Regions from separate parts of the Homo sapiens genome. Here all the other regions are linked to region 3. The links are contacts of gene promoters, found by promoter capture Hi-C in human tissues and cell types (Jung and others, 2019). All regions are on one chromosome and are shown on one strand. The core of a region is centred on a gene start or on the middle of the fragment in contact, and the rest is flanking DNA. Distances in the headings are between cores, read along the strand shown. Region 1 holds the start of COL5A3 (collagen type V alpha 3 chain). Region 2 holds the start of OR7D2 (olfactory receptor family 7 subfamily D member 2). Region 3 overlaps ZNF561-AS1 (ZNF561 antisense RNA 1).

Region 1 (4,647 bases), core at 1,896-4,395, 390 kb before region 3:
AAGCCGTTTCCACCCGGCTGCCTCCTAGTGCCACCCTGCACTTCTTACCCTGGTAGCGCTTCTTGGGGTCATGGGCCAGTTGCACTGCAAGTTCCAGACCAATTCCTGATGAGCAGCCGGAGATCAACACAGTCCGGGGTGCAGCGGCCATGTTGATCCCCTCCCTGGACTCGTGACCTCCGCCGGGCAGCACCTGACTCTGACCATTCATCCTGGGCTCATCTGCTCCCTCCTAACCCCCTCCCACAGATCCCCTGCAGGGCAAAGCCTCTGCCCTCCCCCGGAGACCCTCAATTCTGGACTGACCCTGAACAGGCAGTAAGAGAGAATCTCTTAAATCCTCTCTGCACCTCATTTTCTTCATCTGCCAAACATTTCTTCTCCGCACCTACTATAGACATCACTGGTTTTTGTTTGTTTGTTTTTAAGAGACAGCATCTTGCTCTGTCACTCAGGCTGGAGTGCAGTGGCACCATCATAGCTCACCACAGCCTCAAGCGATCCTCCTATCTCAGCCTCCAGAGTAGCTGGGGCTACCGGCGCACACTACCATGCCCAGCTAATTTTTAAATTTCTTTTTCTTTTAGACATGGGATCTTGCTATGTTGCCCAGATTGGTCTCGAACTCTTGGCCTCAAGTGATCCTCCTGCCTTGGCCATTTGTAACTGTTTTCTTAATTTATAATTTTTATTATGACTGTAAATTATTATTATTATTTTGAGACAGAGTCTTGCTCTTGTCACCCAGGCTGGAGTGCAGTGGTGCAATTTCGGCTCACTACAACCTCAGCTTTCCAGGGTAAAATGATTCTCCTGCCTCAGCCTCCTGAGTAGCTGGGATTACAGGCGTGTGCCACCACACCCAGCTAATTTTTGTATTTTTAGTAGAGATGAGGTTTCGCCATGTTGGCCAGGCTGGTCTTGAACTCCTGACCTCAAGTGGTCCAGCCGCCTCAGCCTCCCAAAGTGTTGGGATTACAAGCATGAGCCACTGAGCCTGGCCGAGTATAAATTATTTAGGGCTGGGGAGAGTTTCTGTGAAAGTTGGGGGGAATTAGTGTCTGTATTCTGGGTGAAGAATCTCTGATTGAAGGGAGAGAGTGAGAGAAGGAGACAGAGAATGTGGATCCAGAAGTGTTTCATAGAGGGAAGGGGTGTAGAACTGTCAGAAGATGTAGTTAGACTATAGGAAGAACTTCCAGCAAGGCAGGGCAGGGCAGGAATTTTGTGAGAGTCTTTTAGTTGGAGAAGTCTCAGCCTCAGATGTCCCTGGGGTGGGAGGAGGCACAGCTTACAGAGATACCCTCTCCTCCTCCCACCCTGGGGGGCCCCCATCTCCCCCTCAGGCTTGATGGGGCCCCAACCCCTCCTCTTCAGGGACACAGAGACTCTTTGTCTGGGGAGTCAGAGGCTGGGAGGGAGGCACTGCTTGCGTCTCCCTCTTCCCCTGGGGCGGAGGTGGGGGAAGCAGGGTTCGGGGAGCAGTTCAGGGCTCAGAATACGCCTCTTGGTTCCTCCCCTCCCTGGGGAAACACCCTCACATCCTGCGTGTCTGCGCTTGTCCAATTGCATAAAAGCTCTATTTGACCTCATGGGGGCCTCTTCATGCTGGAGGTGGGGGTCCCAGCACGGTGAGGGGGGCCTCTGCCTCATCCCAAGAATGGCAAGAATCCACCCCTTCCTCCCCAGTGGCTGTGCGTTGCTTTGCGACAGGGACAGATTCCCACCACCTCCCACCAACGCGCCGGCCTTTTTTTTTGAGACAGACAGAGTCTTGCTCTGTTGTCCAGGCTGGATCGCAGTGGCACAACCTCAGCTCACTGCAACCTCCACCTCCCGTGTTCAAGTGATCCTCCCACCTCAGCCTCCCAAGTAGCTGGGACTACAGGCGCCAGTCACAATGCCTGGCTAATTTTTGTATTTTTAGTAGAGATGGGGTTTCGCCATGTTGGCCAGCTGATCTCTAACTCCTGGACTCAAGCGATCTGCCCGCCCCAGCCTCTCAAAATGCTGGGATTACAGGCATGAGCCACCGCACCCAGCTCAGACTCCCTCATTTGGTGGGGATTTGGGATTGAGGCCGGGGCATCCACTGGAGACCTGAGTTGGGGCGGGGGGAGATGAGGGTTAGGGATGGAGATGAGACCCTTTATTTGAGGAATCAAGAATTTGGGGAAAGTGAAAACTGTGTTTTGGGATCTGTGGTGAGAATTTGGGACCAGGACACGTGACTTAGGGATTTGAGTGGACAGATGAAGGTTTGGAGTAAGGCTGGGGACCCCATTTTGGGATCTGGGGTGAGATTTGAGGTGGGATGAGGACCCGTTAGGGACTTGAAGGAAAGGCTTTGGGGCTGAGGCTGGTACCTCCTATTGTGCAGCTGAGGGACTGAGGATAAAGCAGGTAGGTGAGTGAGAGTTCGGGGTGAGGTTGGGACCCCAGTTGGGGGCCTGAGTGAGGCAGAAAGGACTTGGTGCCAGGGGCGGTGGCTCATGCCTGTAACTCCAGCGCTTTGGGAGGGCAAGGCCGGAGGATCGCTTGAGACCAGAAGTTCAAGACCGGCCTGGGCAGCATAGCAAGATCCCGGTCTCTACAAAATATACATATTTTAAAATTAGCTGGGTGTGGCAGTGTGTGCCTGTGGTACCTGCTTCTCAGGAGGCTGAGGCAGGTGGATGGCTTGAACGCAGGAGTTGGAGGCTGCAGTGAGCTATGATTGCACCACTGCACTCCAGCTTGGGTGACAGATCAAGACCCTGTCTCCAAAATAAAATGTAAAAATAATAGAAAATAAAAAAGATTTGGTATAAAGCTGCACCTCCTCCTAATTCTAGGGCCTGGATGGAGGCTGAAGTCTTGAATGAGGTTAAGGTCTCCTTTGAGGGGATCTGCTAGGCGGAAAAGGTTTGGGGTAAGACTGGAACCCTCGAACTCTAGGGCTGGGTGGGAGTGACCCTTCTCCTCCACAGTGGGGTGGGGCAGGAACAACCCAGCTCCTGGCGCTGGGCTCCACCCCAGCCAGCCAATCAGCCCTCAGCACAAAGTTTCCCAACTTCCCAGTCCAGCTGTCAGCGCTCCCCCTCCAAAAAGCCCCGCCTGGCCAGGCGCTGGAGCGCAGGGCGAGGCCAGGGCGGGGTCTCGGGCAGTTTCCCGCGGACCCTGAGAGGAGCGGCCGCCGCGAGTGACTGCACCGAGCCCGAGAAGTCGCCGCGCCCCGCAGCCGCCCCGACTGGTTCCCCGCCTTGCCCGTGGGCCCCGCCGGGATGGGGAACCGCCGGGACCTGGGCCAGCCGCGGGCCGGTCTCTGCCTGCTCCTGGCCGCGCTGCAGCTTCTGCCGGGGACGCAGGCCGGTGAGCCGGGAGGGAAGAGATGGGACCCAGGGTCCACGACTCAGAGAGGCTCTAAAAGAGCGAGGGGTGGAGGGGGGTGGAGGGGCGTGGAGGGGAAGGGCGTGGGCGCCGCGTGCGGCCCCGGTGTGATGTGGGCGCATGAGTATCTGACTCTGGGTGATTTGTGGGTGTGACAGCTCGGGGTGGGGGTGGGGATGTGTGAGTGCGTTTTCTGGCGAGCGCGTGGGAATGCATGCAATGTGCAGGTGTGTGCATGTGTGTATGTGTGTGTAGCATGTGTGTGCATTTGGAGTGAAGTTGCGTATGTGCTTGCGTGTGGAGGTTGATGGTGATAGTGTGACTGTGAGTGACAGGGCAGTGCTGGGACGGTGTGTATTGCGACAGGTGAGTATGCACTTGTGCTCTTGTCTATGTGCTGATTTTCGAGGGTAACCGTGTGAGTGGTTATGCGTGTGATTGTGTGTCTCTGAGTGCCGCTATGAGGGGTGTAGTTATGATTTTTGGGTGCAAATAATTGCCCATGAGGATGAAGGTGGGTGGGGACAAGTATTGGGGGGTGCTCTTCGGGAACCCACAGTTTCCTTTGCGTCTCTTTAAATGGCTTCACCTCATTCTCCCTTTTCCTCCTCTGCCCCAAATTGGCGAGCGCCCATCTCCTCCCCTCCCTCCCTGTTGCCCCCTCCCCCACCCCGCGGTCCCCAGAGCCGCGATCAGCACCATGGACAGGGCTTCGGGGAGGGCCGCGGTGAGGGGCGAGACGGGGCGGGGCGCAGGGCGGGGCAGGAGTGGAAGTTGCTCCCCCCCTCCCCACCCCAGCTGCTGGAGCCTTGGGTGTTTTTCCCGAGGAATTTCTCAGGAGCCCCCAAGGGGTCCCGGGGGCCGCCGGATGGGTGAGTCAGCGCTGACGCACGCCCAGCTGCGCGCATCTGGCTGGGCGCCCTGTCCCGCCCCTCAGGGTTCAGAGTGGGGGGCGCTTCGGGAGTCAGGGGATGGCGTAGCTTCTCAAGTGTTGGAGATGGGGCTTCCCTGATCTGAGAGACCCTAGACTAGGTCCTCCTGGAAATCCCTTTCTAAGGTGAGCTCAGTCTCCCAACACACACACACACACACACACACACACACACACACACACACACCACAGCACACTTCTTACTTTGGAGTCCAGGAAGGTGCCTGTCCATATGGTTAATCCCTGATTGGACTATGCCGCATTCCCACGCTCACACATCCACATGGTCATGGAATCTTAGGCATCCACTCTGAATATAAGTCCCCTGGGACTCCAGGAATGTGAAA
Region 2 (5,044 bases), core at 294-2,793, 450 kb after region 3:
TTAATATCGGCAAGTCAGATAACAAAGTATATGCGTGAATAGAGCAAGGCAGAAAAAGAAACCATGGTTTTAACATAAGCTAAAATTCATTTAATAAAATGTAACAGCCTGGCTGGGTGCTGTGACTCCTGCCTGTAATCCCAGCACTTTGAGAGGCTAAGGCAGGAGAAATTCTTGAGGCCAGGAGTTTGAGACCAGCCTAGACAACAAAATGAGACACTTGCCTCTACAAAAATAGATTTTTAAAAAATTAGCTACTTGGGAGGCCAAGGCAGGAGGTTTGCTTGAGCCCAGAAAGACCCTGTCTCAAAAAAAAAAAAAGTCAACTTAAACACAATTAATTACAACTAATCAGTGTCATCAGCTTTCTTATGTATCTGCAAACAGCCATGAGAAAAAATAAGAGGAAAAAAAGTCCATTCACAATTGCAATGATAATATATGTAACATCTGGTGCAGAGTGAACATTTAATACATACTTGTTTTGTTTTGCTTTGCTTTGTTGATTTTTTTTTTTTTAGACGGAGTTTTGTTCTTGTTGCCCAGGCTGAAGTGCAATGGTGCAATCTCAGCTCACTGCAACCTCTGCCTCCCAGGTTCAAGAAATTCCCCTGCCTCAGCCTCCCAAATGGCTGGGACTACAGGCACACACCACCATGCCCGGCTAATTTTGTATTTTTAGTAGAGACAGGGTTTCACCATGTTGGCCAGGATGGTCTCGATCTCTTGACCTTGTGATCCACCCGCCTCGGCCTCCTAAAGTTCTGGGATTATAGGCATGAGCCACTGCACCCGGCCGAGAACTATTATATTATACTAGAGAAGAAAAAGGAAGGTGTTAGCAGGTAGACTGAAAGGAATCCACTCAAGGAAGTGCCAGTTCCTACTGACATTGAGAAAGTCACTAGTTTCCAGAATGAAAGGCCATCAGAGGTGGAGGTGACAGAAACAGTTGCAATAGAATCTTTTTTTTTTTTTGAGACAGCGTCTCACTCACTCTGTCACCCAGGCTGGAGTGCAGTGGCGTGATCTTGGCTCATGGCAACCTCTGTCTCCCGGGTTCAAGCCATTCTCCTGACTCAGGCTCCCGAGTAGCTGGGATTACAGGCATCCGCCACCATGCCCAGCTAATTTTTGTATTTTTAGATGAGATGGGGTTTCACCAAGTTGGCCAGGCTTGTCTTAGACTCCTGGCCTCAAGCGATCCGCCTGCCTCAGCCTCCCAAAAGTTGCAATGCCTTAAGACATCTATAACCAGGTAAGGGAATCCTAGAGACATTTTAAAAATCATGAGACATTATCAACCCTGTTACCTCCATCTCTGTTCCTCCCCACACTACTTTTTAAATCCTTTTCACACACGGTACTAACAAGGATAGTGTGAGTCACTCAACTGACATTGCTTGAAAAAAAAAAATGCTGGTATGACGTCTTCCTCCCCTGACTGTTGAATGCTGAAGACAGAATCTAGCAGGGAAAGGCGGGGAGATGGAACTTGTCATGAAGTCATCCTAACTCTCCTCTCTAAGATGCATGAGTGTGGCGTCAGGAAACTGTCCAGGTGAGGTGTTTTAGGGAAGTATTTATGGTTTCTCAAGCCCCAGGGAGCTGATGTCTCATCCTTCCTCATTAAATCCACTGTTCCAGTGATGTTCTACTCTCCAACCCATTCGGCTCCCTTGGGATCAAGAGCAAATGGCAGAAAGGTATGATGTGTTCTAATTCTGTTTCCAAGAAGGCAGCTCTGAAGCCAGGTGACTCTCTCTGCACCTCCCACCCTCTTGGGGCCTCTTTATTCTTGGAAGAGCTTTCATCACTATTGGTTTGGCTTTGAGATAAAGAGGTTTTCCCCTCTGGAATGTGTCGCAGAAGCTACAAAGACCCATCTCTCTGTAATCCCAGTGCCTAAGGGTCTCAAGGTAACACAGAAGAAAATAGAGATGCAACTATTTCCGTGAATCCCCTGTGATCGCGTTGGCTGCAGGGCGTTAAACAGGCTGTGGACATGTCGTAAGTCCTGTTTCAAGAGAGGGAGAGTCAACCATTGCGAGATACAGCAAGATTTCTCTTCAAACAGCCTGCTCAGCTTCTTATTCTCTAATTCCAAGTACCCCCCCCACACACTTTCTTCTCCTTTTCTTCTTTCTGATTTTGCTGCATGCCCAGATATGCCATAGCCCCAGCTCACATTTCTTTCCTTATTTAAGAATAGACTAGCTGTCTATTCCTCTGTAGAAGACCCCTTCCTCCTCTCCTCTGTCTCCCATCACACACCCACCTTATCTAAGACAGTTTAAATGTGTAACCAATCAAGTCTAGTTTAGATTGTGCTGTCCGACCCCAGCCAATGGGGAAAGGACACACAAAGTCAAGAGTCGCATTAAGAATAAAAGTTGCTACTCTCCTTTGTTCAGGGTGCTCTTGTAGCAGCCAACCCTACGAGAAGCACCCTTCTGCGCAGAAGTAAATTTGCTTTGCTGAGAAATCCTTTGTTTGAGTGCTCATTTTTCTTTATGACTCCAAGATTTATTTCTAACAACCATGTAAAACGATGCTATAAGGCTAAGCAAAATAAAGGCTGAAGAATATCCATCACATTTAATGGCATGGAAAACATTAGAAACAGCGATCTGGGTAGAGTGATGGGGAAAATTTCATTGATGGCAAGTTTGGGAGGAACTGAACAATAAGAAAAAAGTTTTTTTCAATTTTTAAAATGATGGTAAAATATACATAACATACAGTTCACCATCTTAACCATTTTAAGTGTACTATTCAGTGGCATTAAGTATATTCACAGCAGCCATCACTATCCTCCATATTCAGAATCTTCTCATCTCCCCAAGCTGAAACTCTGTCCCGTAACACTCATCCCTCATTCACCCTCCCCAGCCCCTAATGAACCACCATACCACTTTCTGTCTCTATAATTCTGACTGTGGTACCTACTTCATAGACGGAAGTATACACTGTTTGTCTTTTTGTGACTGACTTATTTCATTTAAGTGAAATATTGCCAAGGTTCATGTATGCTGTATATGTGTCCGAATGTTCTTTCTCTCTCTCTCTCCTCTCTCTTTTTTTTTCTTTCTTCTTTTTTGTCAGGGTCTTACTCTGTCACCTAGGCTGGAGTGCAGTGGCACAATCATAGCTCATTACAATCCCAAAGACCTGAGATCAAGCAATCCTCCCACATCAGTCTCCCAATTAGCTAATTTGTTTTTTATTTTTTGTTGTTTTTCTATTTATTATTATTATTATTTTTATATTATTATTTTGAGACAAAGCCTCACTCTTGTCGCCCAGGCTGGAATGCAACTTCCACCTCCGAGGTTCAAGCGATTCTCCTGCCTCAGCCTCCCGAGTAGCTGGGATTACACGTGTGCGCCACCATGTCCGGCTAATTTTTGTATTTTTAGTAGAGATGGGGTTTCACCATGTTGGCCGGGCTGGTCTCATATTCCTGGCCTTGAGTGATCCTCCCGCCTCAGCCTCCCAAAGTGTTGGGATTATAGGCATGAGGCACCATGCTCAGGAGAATGTTCTTTGTTAAAGCCACAAAATATTTCATTATATTATATGTATATACACACATTTTGTTTATCCATTCATCTGTCAATGACTGACAGATCTTTTAAAATTAAAATTAAATGTACAAAAATCTGTGTGGTTTGCAGGAATAAATTTCGAGTACTTCAAATATACAACAAAATGTGCTTGGCCGGGTACGGTGGCTCATGCCTGTAATCCCAGCACTTTGGGAGGCCAAGGTAGGTGGATCACCTGAGGTCAGGAGTTCGAGACCAGCCTGGCCAACATGGTGAAACCCTGTCTCTGCTAAAAATACAAAAAAAAAAAAAAAAAAAAATTAGCTGTGCGTGGTTGTGGGCGCCTGTAATCCCAGCTACTTGGGAAGCTAAGGCGAGAGAATTGCTTGAACCCAAGAGGTGGAGGTTGCAGTGAGCCGAGATTGCACCATTGCACTCCAGCCTGAGTAACAAAAGCGAACCCCGTCTAAAAAAAAAAGGGGTAAATATTTTTTCTGAAATATAATTTTTAATATAAAATTATTAACACATTATTTCATTTTTTTTCATTTGTTTGTTTTGGTGCAGTCTCACTCTGTCACCCAGGCTGGAGTGAGCGGCGCAATCTCAGCTCACTGTAACCTCTGCCTCTCGGGTTCAAGTGATTCTCCCACCTCAGCCTCCTGAGGCGTAGTAGCTGTGATTACAGGCATATGTGCCACCACACCCAGATAATTTTTGTATTTTTAGTAGAGATGGGGTTTCACCGTATTGGCCAGGCTAGTCTCAAACTCCTGGCCTCAAATGATCCACCCACCTTGGCCTCCCAAAGTGCTGGGATTACAGGCATGAGCCATGACGCCTGGCCATTTAGGGGTAATCTTTTTAACTGAACAGAAGCAATTGAAGTAATTTGCAACTCGACTGGACAAAAATCATTTGCAATTGATTAATTCCCTGTGGGTTGGCAATAACTTCACAGAGTCCAGGTCTCAAGCAAACAAACGAACATTGCCTTGAGAAGGAAAGAACTAGCTAGGCCTGTCAGACAATGCTTCAGCATGATACTGAACAGTAATGCGGTCATCCTTTTGCCTTATTTAAAAGGTTTAGGTAATTTGCTTCTTAATACAAAGGATGGATTAGAAGACAGGAGGGTGATGGAACAAGAGATGGAGTTGGAGCAAAAAACAGGAGTCAGATCATGGAGGACACTGGAGTTTAGGTTTCCTTCTGGAGGGAAGTAAGAGCACCGGGTGTTAAAAAAAAAATGTGTACAATGATGTTCCCCTGCAGAATGGGCAGGAAGGGTGCCAGGCTACCTACAGCCCAGATGACAGATCATGTGGACTTGAATCAAAGCAGCATTGGTGGACGTTCTAAAAAAATAAAGTCTATTAAAATGGCATCTAATTCTTGCTATATATATATATATATGTATATATATAATAATAAATATATATAAAAATAAAATATATATAATAAAAATATATAAAAATATATATATTTTTGAGATG
Region 3 (5,019 bases), core at 2,084-4,583:
TGGATGAAGGATGGGCGTGGTGGCTCATACCTGTAATCCCAGCACTTTGGGAGGCCAAGGCAGGTGGATCACAAGGTCAGGAGTTCGAGACCAGCATAGCCAATATGGTGAAACCCCATCTCTACTAAAAATACAAAAATTAGCTGGCCATGGTGGCAGGCGCCTGTAATCCCAGCTACCCAGGAGGCTGAGGCAGGAGAATCACTTGAACCTGGGAGGCAGAGTTTGCAGTGAGCTGAGATTGTGCCACTGCACTCCAGCCTGGGTGACAGAGCAAGACTCCATCTTAATAATAATAATAATAATAATGTGGCATGATTTTTTAAAAATGGATCAAAAACCTTAGTGTAGTGTAAGAGCTAGAGCTGGAAAACTATTAGAAGAAAACATAGGTGAGAAAGCTTCAACTGGAAATGACTTCTCAGTTATGACATCAACCACACAGGCAACACAAGAAAAATTATGAGTTGAACCTAATCAATGATACAAATTTTGTGCATCAAAGCATAATAACAAGAGAGTAAAAAGACAATCTACAAATGGGAGAAAATATTTGCAAGTCCTGTATCTGACTGGGGACAAATATCCAGAGTTTATTTTTAAAATTTCTAGAACCCAAGAGTAACAACAACAAAACTCATTTCAATACAGAAAAAGGACTTGAATAATATCACCAAAGAAGATATACAGATGGCCAATAAACACACGAAAAGATGCTCATGAAACGATGCTCAACATCACTAAACATCATGAAAATGAAAATCAAAACCATGCTGGATGTGATGGCTCACACCTGTAATCCCAGCACTTCGGGAGGCTGAGGCCAGGGGATTCCTTGAGATTAGGACTTCAGGACCAGCCTGGGCATATGGTGAAATATGGTCTTTACAAAAAAATTTTTTTTAATTCAGCCAAGGATGGTGGTGGCATGCACCTGTAATCTCTGCTACCTGGGAGGTTGAGGTGGGAGGATTACCTGAGCCCAGTAAGTTGAGGACTGCAGTGATCCATGATCACGTCACTGCATTCGAGCCTAGACAATAGAGTGAGACCCTGTCTCAAAAAAAAGAAAAAAAAAGAACGATTAAACAGAATTACCATGTGATCCAGATATTCCACTTTGGCATATCCAAAACTGTTCAGAGCAGGGACTCAGAGATATTTGTACACCAATGTTTGTCTCACTAGTATTCACAATAGCCTACCCCTGCCAAACTGCAATTTTAACACACTGGATTGTTTGAAACATAGCCTGAACAAGCCTATTTTTAGCCATTTCGAGTGCGCCTGCTTTGTATTCTCTGAAATTATATCCAATATCTGACAGCCATAGATAAGATAACTCCAGGGCTATGAAAACCCCATACCCCTGCGGTCCTTCAGAGCTTTTTTTTTTTTTTTTTTCTGATGCAGGGTCTTGCTCTGCCACCCAGGCTGGAGTACAGGGGCACAATCTCAGCTCACTGCAGCCTCCATCTCCTGGGTTCAAGCGATTCTCCTGCCTCAGCCTCCCAAGTAGCTGGGATTATAGGCACCTGGCACCATACCTGCTAATTTTTGTATTTTTAGTAGAGACGGAGTTTCACCATATTGGCCAGACTTATCCTTCAGAGCTTTTTAACTGGAAGATATGCTGCCAGTCTGGTGAATATCATCATTTAGTTATTTATAAGCCCCCTCTTTGATTCCCCTTCTCCTCTGAGAGTCTTTCTTCCTTTCCACCCTTTCTGAGCAGCGACCCACAGGTAGAAGCCTGTGGATATTCTCTTGCTGTTTGCTACCTCCCCCACTGCTAACCTGTCAAAGCACATCCCAAATGAAGCTTGTGTGCTACTGCCGCCTTGTGGTAACATCTTTTTCCTTACTCAGCCAAGAAATCACTTAAACACCCTAAATACGTGTGTGGTTTTATTTTTTACACTTAGATCCCTAGTCCACTTGGAGTTTATTCTTGTATATGCTGTGAAGTATGGATTTAATTTCATCTTTTCTCAGATGGCTAACCAGCTATCTTAGACCTTCCATTTGTTACAAATGGCATTTTTTGCCCCATTTATCTGAAATGCCACTTTTTTTTTTTAGACGGTGTTTCTCTCTTGTTGCCCTGGCTGGAATGCAATGGCACGATCTCCACTCACCCCAACCTCCGCCTCCTGGGTTCAAGCGGTTCTCCTGCCTCAGCTTCCTGAGTACCTGGGATTATAAGCATGTGCCACCATGCCCAGCTAATTTTGTATTTTTAGCAGAGACGGGGTTTCTTCATGTTGGTCAGGATGGTCTCTAACTCGTGACCTCAGGTGATCCACCCGCCTCTGCCTCCAAAAGTGCTGGAATTATAGGCATCAGCCAATGCACCCGGCTTTTTTTTTTTTTTTTTTTTTTTTTTTTGAGACAGAGTCTCGCTGTGTCGCCAGGCTGGAGTGAAATGGCGTGATCTCGGCTCACTGCAACCTCTGCCTCCCAGGTTTGAGCAATTCTCTTGCCTCAGCCACCCGAGTAGCTGGGCTTACAGGCGCCCACCACAACGCTTGGCTAATTTTTTTTTTTTTTTTTTTAGACGGAGTCTCGCTCTATCGCCAGGCTGGAGTGCAGGGGAGCGATCTTGGCTCACTGCAACCTCCGCCTCCTGGGTTCAAGCGATTCTCCTACTTCGGCCTCCTGAGTAGCTGGGATTACAGGCACCCGCCACCATGCCAGCTAATTTTTCTATTTTTAGTAGAGACGGGGTTTCACCAAGTTGGCCAGGATGGTCTCGATCTCGTGACGTCGTGATCTGCCTGCCTCAGCCTCCCAAAGTGCTGGGATTACAGGCATGAGCCAGCATGCTCGGCCATGCTTGGCTAAATTTTTTTTCTTTTTTGAGACAGAGTCTCACTCTGTTGCCCAGGCTGGAGTGCAGTGGTGCGATCTCAGCTTACTGCAACCTCCGCCTTCTGGGTTCAAGCAATTCTCCTGCCTCAGCCTCCTGAGTAGCTGAGATTACAGGCATGCATCACCACACCCAGCTAATTTTTGTATTTTTAGTAGAGATGGGATTTCACCATGTTGGTCAGACTAGTCTCGAACTCCTGACCTCATGATCCGGCTGCCTCGGCTTCCCAAAGTTCTGGGATTACAGGCATGAGCCACCGAACCCGGCTATGTTTTTGTATTTTTAATAGAGATGGGGTTTCACCATGTTGGGCAGGCTGGTTTTGAACTCCTGACCTCAAGTGATCCTCCTGCCTCAGTCTCCCAAATTGCTAGGATACAGGCATGAGCCACCGCATCTGGCAAAATACATTTATGAACCAAATTTCTACATGTTCATGGGTCTATTTTTTGATATTTTATTAGTTTCTGTTTCACGTGCTAGTACCACATAGTTTTAATTATAGAGGCTTTATAGTATGTTTTTTAAATTAATTAATTAATTAATTTTTTAGACAGAGTCTCACTCTGTCAGCCAGGCTGCAATTCAGTGGCACAATCTCGGCTCACTGCAACCTTCATCTCCCAGGCTCAAGCAACTCTCCTGCCTCAGCCTCCCAAGTAGCTGGGATTACAAGCATGTGCCACCACGCTTGCTAATTTTTGTACTTCTAGTAGAGACAGGGTTTCACCATGTTAGCCAGGCTGGTATCAAACCCCCGACTTCAGGTAATTTGCCTGCCTCGGCCTCCCAAATTGCTGGGATTACAGGCGTGAGCCACTGTGCCCGGACTTTATTTTTATTTTAAAATAATGTAATTCTTTGCCTTGCATGAAAACTGTCAATAGTATGTTTTAATATCTGCTGCTCATCATTGCTTTTGTTTTTGTTTTCTTGGTTATTATCAGATGTTTGTTCCTCCACATAAACTTCAGTATCAATGTACTTAACTCCAGAAAAAAACTTTTGGTATTTTTATTGGGAGTATGTTACATTTCTGAATAATCTTGGGGAGAATGTCTGGTATCAGTGCTATTTTACAACGTAGGAAATGTGTTCCTGGCCCATGTGGTAAGATCAGAAAAATAACAACAGAAATACATATTTTTGGCTGGGGCAGTGGCTCATGCCTGTAATCCCAGCTCTTTGGGAGGACCAGGTGGATGGATCACGAGGTCAGGACTTTGAGACCAGCTGGGTCAATATGATGAAACCATGTCTGTATTAAAAATGCAAAAATTAGTTGGGCGCAGTGGCACATGCCTGTAGTCCCAACTACTCAGGAGGCTGAGGCAGAAGAATGGCTTGAACCCAGGAGGCAGAGTTTGCAGTGAGTGAAGATCGCACCACTGCACTCCAGTCTGGGTGGCAGAGCGAAACTATGTCTCAAAAAAACAAAACAAAACAAAACATTTTTTAATTTAAATTTTTTTTATATATATATAGAGAGATGGGGTTTTGCTGTGTAGCCCAGGCTTGTCTTAAACTCCTGGCCTTAAACGATCCTACCATCTTGGCCTGGCAGATATTTTAGGCCAGGAGTTCGAGATCAGCCTGGCCAACCTGGTGAAATCGTTCTCTACTAAAAATACAAAAATTAGCTGGGCGTGGTGGCAGGCGCCTGTAATCCCAGCTACTCCAGAGGCTGAGGCAGGAGAATTGCTTGAACCTGGGAGGTGGAGGTTGCGGTGAGCTGAGATCACACCACTGCACTCCAGCCTGGTCTGATCCAGTGAGATCTGTCGCAAGCAAGCAAGCAAGCAAGAAAGAAAAAGAAAACCCAATGGAATCAGCAGGTTCTAAAAAATAAAGAATGAAGAAAAAAAGGCCTACAGAAACTCTGACTGAATGGAAGGGATAGACCATGCCATTCATTGGCAGCTTTATCAATATGGAAGAATCATGGAAAGGCTCTAGGAACATGAGGAGAGGCATACAAACAAGCTTTATATTTATATCTAAAAAGTAAAGCAGAGGTTCCTCTTCAAAGACGTTCCTTCACATTTAATTAGGAATAAATAGTAACTTCTCTTAGAAGCAAAATTTATTCAAAGACCTGTGCTAACATTCTCAAGTATCTGTGAGCCGTGATAAAGAAATCAATGTAC

Evidence for each region. Contacts are between HindIII fragments. The study calls those that stand out against the background at their distance.
Region 1: the fragment with the promoter of COL5A3 here is called in contact with a fragment that was not itself captured in region 3 in 2 of the 25 tissues and cell types used here (lymphoblastoid cells and spleen).
Region 2: a contact is called between the fragment with the promoter of OR7D2 here and a fragment that was not itself captured in region 3, in 3 of the 25 tissues and cell types used here (IMR-90 fibroblasts, adrenal gland and lymphoblastoid cells).

What each region holds. Positions count from the first base shown.
Region 1 is chr19:10,009,002-10,013,648 of GRCh38, reverse strand. It overlaps COL5A3 (collagen type V alpha 3 chain), which reads left to right and starts at 3,145. Exons shown (of 67, transcript NM_015719.4): 1 at 3,145-3,351. The coding sequence starts at 3,264. It overlaps RDH8 (retinol dehydrogenase 8), which reads right to left and starts at 166. Exons shown (of 6, transcript NM_015725.4): 1 at 49-166. The coding sequence starts at 151. The HindIII fragment of the contact is 11,359 bases long and covers 1-4,647 here.
Region 2 is chr19:9,175,478-9,180,521 of GRCh38, reverse strand. OR7D2 (olfactory receptor family 7 subfamily D member 2) reads right to left here and starts at 1,543. Exons shown (of 3, transcript NM_175883.4): 1 at 1,399-1,543. The HindIII fragment of the contact is 33,183 bases long and covers 1-5,044 here.
Region 3 is chr19:9,622,818-9,627,836 of GRCh38, reverse strand. It overlaps ZNF561-AS1 (ZNF561 antisense RNA 1), which reads right to left. Exons shown (of 4, transcript NR_122038.1): 2 at 977-1,053. Among named protein-coding and RNA genes, the nearest start is that of ZNF561-AS1, 3.8 kb to the right of the region's middle. The HindIII fragment of the contact is 4,441 bases long and covers 1,113-5,019 here.